2 separate regions of the Homo sapiens genome follow, and region 1 is linked to region 2. Evidence: promoter capture Hi-C in 16 types of primary human blood cells and fetal thymus (Javierre and others, 2016). All regions are on one chromosome and are shown on one strand. The core of a region is centred on a gene start or on the middle of the fragment in contact, and the rest is flanking DNA. Distances in the headings are between cores, read along the strand shown.

Evidence for each region. The method cuts DNA at HindIII sites, captures the fragments that hold promoters and counts their contacts. A CHiCAGO score of 5 or more calls a contact.
Region 1: a fragment that was not itself captured here is called in contact with the fragment with the promoter of WRNIP1 in region 2 in 2 of 17 cell types (megakaryocytes and naive CD4 T cells); the score reaches 7.4 in megakaryocytes.

The regions. Positions count from the first base shown.
Region 1 is chr6:3,064,428-3,068,121 of GRCh38, reverse strand. It overlaps a transcript of RIPK1 not described here. Among named protein-coding and RNA genes, the nearest start is that of RIPK1, 2.2 kb to the left of the region's middle. The HindIII fragment of the contact is 752 bases long and covers 884-1,635 here.
Region 2 is chr6:2,763,054-2,766,958 of GRCh38, reverse strand. It overlaps WRNIP1 (WRN helicase interacting protein 1), which reads right to left and starts at 1,566. Exons shown (of 7, transcript NM_020135.3): 1 at 515-1,566. The coding sequence starts at 1,336. It also overlaps a transcript of MYLK4 not described here. RefSeq lists silencers at 646-965, 1,136-1,595, 1,756-1,805, 2,186-2,275 and enhancers at 1,730-2,024, 2,122-3,001. The HindIII fragment of the contact is 13,290 bases long and covers 1-3,905 here.

The DNA.
Region 1 (3,694 bases), core at 10-2,509, 300 kb before region 2:
GTGAAGTCTCGAGCAAAGTTGGAACTGCATGCTATTCATGTATATTAAAAATCAAATAATAAAATTATATGCACATCAGGCCGGGCGCGGTTGTTCACGCCTGTAATCCCAGCACTTTGGGAAGCCAAGGCGGGCGGATCACTTGAGGTCAGCAGTTCGAGACCAGCCTGGCCAACATGGTGAAACCCCATCTCTACTAAAAAATACAAAAATCAACTGGGCGTGGTGGCGGGCACCAGCAATCCCAGCTACTCGGGAGGCTGAGGCAGGAGAATCCCTTGAACCTGGGAGGTGGAGATTGTAGTGAGCCGAGATCGCGCCACTGCACTCCAGCCTGGGTGACAAGAGCAAGATTCCGTCTCAAAAGGAAAAAAAAAAAAAGCACAACAGGATTACATACTGTGAAAAGATATGTATGTCAAGAGAACTAGCCACGTTCACAACACGAGCCACAGACTGGGAGAAAATATTTGCAAAAGACATATCTGATAAAGCACTGTGACCCAAAATATACCAAAAAAAACCCTCTTAAAATGCAACAATATGAAAATGTACAACTTGATTAAAGGCGGGCAAAAGCTCTGAACATACACCTCACCATATGTATATGCATATGAAAAGATGCTCAACATCATGTCATTAAAGAATTGCAATTTAAAAAAACAAATACTATTACACATTTATTAGAATGGCTAAAATTCAGAACACTGACAACAACAAATGTTGATGAGGATCTGGAGCACAAGGAACTCCCATACATTCCTAGTGGGAATGCCTAATGTTAGAGTCTGGAAGACATTTTGGCAATTTCTTAACCAAGCTCTTCTTACCATAAGATGAAGCAACTCCACACCTTGGTATTTACCCAAACGAGTTGAAAGCTTATGCCCATACAAACACCTGTACAAGAATGTCTATAGCAGCTTTATTCATAATTGCCAAAACTTGAGGGCATCCAAGATATCACTTAATGGGTGGACAGATAAGCTGTGGTACATCTATACAATGGAATATTAAGTGCTAAAAAGAAATGAGCTCTGAAGCCACAAAAAAAAAAAAAAAAAAAAAAATCCTGGAGCAATCCTAAATGTATAAATCTAAGTGAAAGAAGCCAATCTGAGAAGACTACATAATGCATGATTCCAACTATGTGACATTCTGGAAAAGGAAAAACTACGGAGATAGTAAAAAAGATCAGCGGCTGCCAGGGATTTGCAGGGAAGGAGGGATGGATAGGTGAGGCACAAGGGATTTTTAGGGCAGTGGAGTCTGACGTTACAGGGTTGGGTACATCTCTATACATTTGTCAAATGTATCTTGAATATACACAAAGAGCAAAACCTAACAAACTCCGGACTTTGGCTGATAATGTATATGTTTTATCCATATTGGTTCATTTTTGTAACCATGAATCTATGTTGGTTTATCAGGTGTGACAAATATTCCACAGTAATGCAGGATGTTGATGGTAGGGGAGGCTGTACAGTCCAGGATGTTTGTGGAAGGGGATATTTTCTTTCTGCTTAGTTTTGCTGTAAACCAAAACAGCTCTAAAACAAAGTCTATTCATTATTTTTTAAAAGATGTACACATATCAAAAAAGACGAAAGGCAGAGCTATTCACTCAGCAAAGCTTTCTATCTACTGTATGCCAAGCAGGTACTAGATACAAGAGCATCTGGTGATAGATACAAGAAATACAAAAAGGAATTCATTCCTTCAGTAAATATTTACTGAGCACCTGTTCTAGGCACTGAAGACTCGGTTGTGAATTAAACACAAAAAATCTCTATGTTCTGGCCGTGTGTAGTGGCTCACACCTGTAATCCTAGCACTTTGGGAGGCCAAGTCGGGCGGATTGCCTGAGCTCAGGGGTTCCGGACCAGCCTGGCAAACATGATGAAACCTCGTCTCTACTAAAAATACAAAAATTAGCTGGGCGTGGTGGTGCATGCCTGTAGACCCAGCTACTCAGGAGGCTGAGGCGGGAGAATTGCTTGAACCCAGAAGGCGGAGGTTGCAGTGAGCCAAGATTGCTCCAGCCTGGGTGACAGAGCCAGACTCCGTCTCAAAAAACAATAAAAAATAAAAAACTCCACGTTCCATTCGTGGAGCTTGCATTCTAATGGGGAAGACAAAAAGTTATTGCCCATCACTGTCCTCTAGACATCATGTGACCTTGGGAGGTTGGAAATGCGTTGTTTTTGCTTCATTTTGTGTTCAGTGTTTTAACTCAGAAACATCTATTTGGGAGCTTTACTCATTACTCCCAGCAAAAGCCATGAGTGTAGACTGTGCATGAGATGAAGGAACTGGTCCTTGCAGAACACCAGAATGGAAAAGGCAAGAAACAGCCCAAGGTGAGGAAAGAAAACCAGCGAGAACAAAGAGCTGGTACTATCTCTGAAGCCCGTGGAGGCCAAAGTGTGAATATGAGGGGGTAGGTCTCTTGGCCACAGGCCTGAAACCAAATGAACCCCCACCCCCAGGCTGCAGTTCCCAGTGCACTTGGAAATGAGACCCTGACTCCTCCAGGTGAGCCTGGGAGACCTCCCTGACTCCTTTCCATCTCCCCCTCCTCCCCCACACCCATCTCCAAGGCCTGCCCTCTACGCCCACATTTCTTCCCACTTTGGATCCTGTGCCTGGTCTAATGCCCAGGCCCCCTCCCGAGCCTCTGGTCTCCCTAGAGCCACTCCCCACTGTCGGGACACCTCATCTGTGCTCCCCAAAACGCCACGCAAAGCACTGGAGAGCCTTGGACAATGAACACAACCCGCACCCCCAGCCACCCCCGCCACAGCCGCACGGCACCTCAGAAAGCCGTGTCTTTTTTTTTTTTTTTTTTTTTTTTTTTGAGACGGAGTCTGGCTCTGTCGCCCAGGCTGGAGTGCTGGAGTGCAGTGGCGCGATCTCAGCTCACTGCAAGCTCCGCCTCCCGGGTTCACGCCATTCTCCTGCCTCAGCCTCCCGAGTAGCTGGGACTACAGGCGCCCGCCACCACGCCCGGCTATTTTTTTGTATTCTTTTTTTTCTTTTTTTTAGTAGAGACGGGGTTTCACAGTGTTAGCCAGGATGGTCTCCATCTCCTGACCTCGTGATCCGCCCGCCTCGGCCTCCCAGAGTGCTGGGATTACAGGCGTGAGCCACCGCACCCGACCAGAAAGCGGTGTCTTAATCCTCTTGTCCTTCCTCCTAAATCTCCTGGGGCCCTTAGGATCCGCTTAAAGCCACCTCGTTAAAACGGTTTCTTCTCCACCTGCCCCTCCCTTGATCCAGCCTCACTGAGGTCACAGCCTCCACCTCTGGCCATCCTGAACCCCTCCCAAAGTCACCTCTTCGCAAACTCCTGGTCCCCCTTAGAAGGCCCCACGTCCATCACGGGATTAATTCCACTCACCCTCAAACACCGCGGCCCGGAGGCTCTGATTCCCACCCTAGAGGAGGTTCTCTTGACCCCGCCGGCGCGACCCTCCCCAGCACGACCCTTCCTCCCGAAAGTGATTCCTCATCTTGCTGGCGGGTCCCACAGACCGCAGGCTCTGCAGGCGAGCGCTGAGCCTGGCTCTGCAGATTCTCAGTCCCTGGAGGAGTGCTCCGGGGAAGGAAGGGCCCCATCCGTTTCGCTGAGTTACTGAAAGAATTAGAATGGGTAAGAGTGCTCGGATTTAGAACTGGAGACTAGTGACTTTGA
Region 2 (3,905 bases), core at 317-2,816:
AAACTTATTCTTAAGAATAAATACCAGTCTGTTAAACCAACAACTAGTGGAAAAGGAAGGAAGCACAACAGAATTAATTTGATTTTTTTCAAAGCTGAATCCGTTATTATGTACAAACGGAATATACAAATGTTTCTTTACAATTTAAACATGCTGATTCCTTGCGAATTCGGTTACTAAATCAAAGTCTGGGGAGGGGGCGGGGAGACCGATGGAAGATAAAGGCAGATCAAATCTAAGAGTCCACATCTTGTAAAACTATGGATTCACAGACATCGTCCTTTTGCAAACCCGGCAAGCCTGCCTTACCAATCTGGGGGTGTGTGCCCTTTTCACACCCATCACAGACTCCACCTGTGGACCAGGCACTGCCCCAGCCCAGCCCAAGTCTGCACCCCCTTATCCAGGAGAGGCAGGCGGCTTCTTTCGAGGGCAGCACACCCGGCTCTCCGACCATCAGCTGCATCCACCGCCGAGATAACTACGGAAGCCCAACGGCCAAGGCCGCACTCACCTTGCCGCAGCCCGGCGGCCCCCACAGGATAAGCGAGGGGATTTCGTTGGTCTCCAGGAGCGAGCGCAGCAGGGTATCCTGGCCCACGGCCTTGCTCTGCCCGAAGTAATCCTGCAGCGTGTCAGGACGCATCGTGTCGGCCAGCGGCTTGCCCTGTAGCATCTGTCGGATCTCCTCGGCAGCCAGCGCCCGGGGGTGCGGGCGGCCCCCGCCACTGGCCCCGAAGGCGGTGGCGGCTTCGGCAGCGTCCGCGTCCCAGTGCCCCGGGTCGTCCTCGCCGTCCGCGTCCGCGTCCCCGTCGCCATCGCCGTCGCCCACGGCCTCCTCCTCCTCCTGCGCCTCCGCCTCGTCCCAGCTGCGCGGAGACGCGCTCCCCGCCGCGGCGGCGGCCGCCGGCCTCTTCCCCGACCCCTTCCTCCCGGGGCTGCTGGAGCGGGCCACCGGGAAGTCGGGGATAAGGCGGGCGCCGCTGGGTGTGGGCGGCGCGTCGTAGCTCTCGCGGCTCTCGGTCTCGCCGCCGTCGTCGCCCTCCTCACCCTCGCCCTCGCTGCTCTCGGCTGCCGTCGGGGTGGCTGGCTGCTTCAGCGCCGAGCTCTCCGACAGCCGCCGCCTCTTGGCGCCGGGCGGCGAGGGCCCCTTGGCCCGCTCCCCGGCGCGGTGCGACCCGGCCGCGGGCTCCGCGTGCCCCGCCGGGTGGAGCAGCAGACAGCGGTCCAGGTGCGAGTTGATGTGCGCGGCGGGCATCATCTGCTGGCACACGGGGCACTGCACCTGGTGCAGCTGCGAAAGGAAGGGGTCGTCTTCCGGCCCGCTCACCTCCATGGCGGCCGCCGCCCTCCCCGGCGCCCGGCGCGGCCGCAGCAACCCGTGCGCACGCGGAGGCCTTCGATGCCCTCCGCTAGGCCCCGCGCCGCGAGACCCTCGCTCGGGGAACCAGCAGGACGCTCGCGGGCCGGAGGAGGGCGCCGCTCATGCCTCACGTCCGCAGCTCCCGCGTCCGCCCGCCCTCGGCCGGCCGCTGGCAGCGCCTCACGCGGCGTGTCGGGAAGTGTAGTTCGTGGCCGTTTGCCCCGGCGGCGGAGGCGCCTCGCGCGGCATGTAAGTAAGTGTAGTCCGTGGCCGTTTGCCCCAATCACCGCCGAGAATACCTCGCGCGGCACTTCGGGAAGTGTAGTCCGCGGCCATTCGCCCCAGCTGCCGTGCGTCCATTTCCGACTCTGAGAACAGCCTTTGCGGGGGCGGGGGAGGGGCGGGGGGGGGGGTTGCGAGGCGAGCGTGGTGCGCGTGCGCGAGGTTGCGCGGTGGCGGACGCAGCCCTCCGCCCAGGCCTGCGAGTCGCGCGAGGGCAGGGAGGAGCCACGGACTGCGCGAGGTTGTTGGAGCGGCGAGCGCCGCTTTCCCGGCCTTCCGTGCTGGGCTGTTGAATGGGCCTGTGGGGACAAGCAGGAGGCGGCCGCAGCGGGTCGTTTGTAACGAAAGGGAAATGGGGGAAAAAACCCAAAAGCCTCCAATAGAAAACCAGTGTTCTATTGGACGTGAACAGCAGAAAAAATACAAACAAGTACGCGAGTGAAAGAAATGCTCACCTCAGTAGTGGTCAGGGAAATGAAAATAAAGCGTCCCTCGCCCCCTTTTAGATGTGTTGGCGTTTAAGTCAAGGGCGGTTCACCTACAGCGCGCTTCGAGCCAAGAGATGCTTCTCGCGGGCCGCTGTGTAATAGTGGCAAATCGGAAACACCAGCCTTCTGTCTCCTTAGCAACCAAATGATGGGAGGCGCCCGTGTGCAATTACGTCCTAGACGGATAGAAATGGAAAGAATATCAGATTAAAACAAGTGTGGTAGTCTGCATCTTTGAATGAATTACCATGTTATTTTTTGCTTTTGTCTAAGTCTCCCGTTTTAAAACATGTATCTCAAAACAGGCATTTTTGGTAACTAGAAGAGGTAAATGAATTGAGGGAGAATGAAGACTTTTCCGAAATTTGGCCAAAACTTGAATTTTTATTTCATCTGGGCAAGAGCACATTGAGGGTCTCACTCGTTCTGTCGCCCAGGCTGGAGTGCAGGGCCGCGACCAGAGCTCACAGCCTTGAACTCCTGGGCGCCCGGGACCCTTCCGCCTTAGCCTTTGGAGTCGTCCTGGGGTTACAGGCTGAGCCACCACGCCTGGCTGGCTGGTTAAGAGTTGTTTCTAACTAAAAAAGTTAGGCTCAAAAATAAGATTAATAGAAACGCTAGAGAAACAAGTTAAACTTTAATCATCATGTAACGTGAAACTACCAAAAGAGGATCGTGAGCTTTCATTATTTTTTTGAGACGCAGTTTCACTCTTGTCCAGGCTGGAGTGCAATGGCGCAATCTCAGCTCACGGCAACCTCCGCCTCCCGGGTTCCAGTGATTCTGCTGTCTCAGCCTCTCGAGTAGCTGGAATTACGGGCGTCCGCCACCACACCCAGGTAATTTTTTTGGATTTTTAGTACAGACGGGGTTTCTTCCTCGAACTCCCGACCTCAGGTGATCCGCCCACCTCGGTCTCCCAAAGTGCTGGGATTACAGGCATGAGCCACTGCGCCCGACCGTGAGCTTTTTTTTTTCATTTGTCCCTCAGCAGTGAGAGGTGACAGCATTCTGGCAGCCCTCTCAGTCCTCGCTCGCTCTCAGCGCCTCCTCTGCCTTGGCGTCCACTCCGGCCGTGGTTGCGAAACCCTTCAGCCTGCCGCTGTACTATGGGAGCTCTTTCCTGGGCGGGCCAAGGCCGGAGCTGGCTCCCTCAGCTTGTGGGGAAGTATGGTGGGAGAGGCGCGGGCGGGAACCGGGGCTGCGCGCGGTGCTTGCGGGCCAGCGCGAGTTCCGGGTGGGAGTAGGCTCAGATAAGCCTCGCGCTCGGAGCGGCCTGCACCACCGGCCCAGGACGGTGAGGAGCTTAGCACTTGGGACAGCACTTCTCGCCAGGCCGTAGTTGCCTCCACGCAGCGCAAGGCTCAGGCCTGCCATGCCTGAGCCTCCCCCCAACTGGGGACTCCTGCGCGGCCCAAGCCTCCCTGAGAAGCGCTGCTTACTGCCTCACGGCACCCAGGGCCGTTCACCACCCCAGAGCTGAGCAATGCAGGCTCATTACGTGGGACTAGCAAGCAACTCTATACTGCAGCCCCAGTTCAGAAATTAATGGGAGAAGCCAACTGGGTTTCTGAGTCTGGTGGGGACTTGGAGAACCTTTATGTCTAGCTAAGGGATTGTAAATACACCAATCGGCACTCTGTATCTAGCTCAAGGTTTGTAAACACACCAATCAGCACCCTGTCAAATCAGACCAATCAGCTCTCCGTAAAACAGACCAATGGGCTCTCTGTAAAATGGACCAATCAGCAGGTTGTGGGTGGGGCCAGATG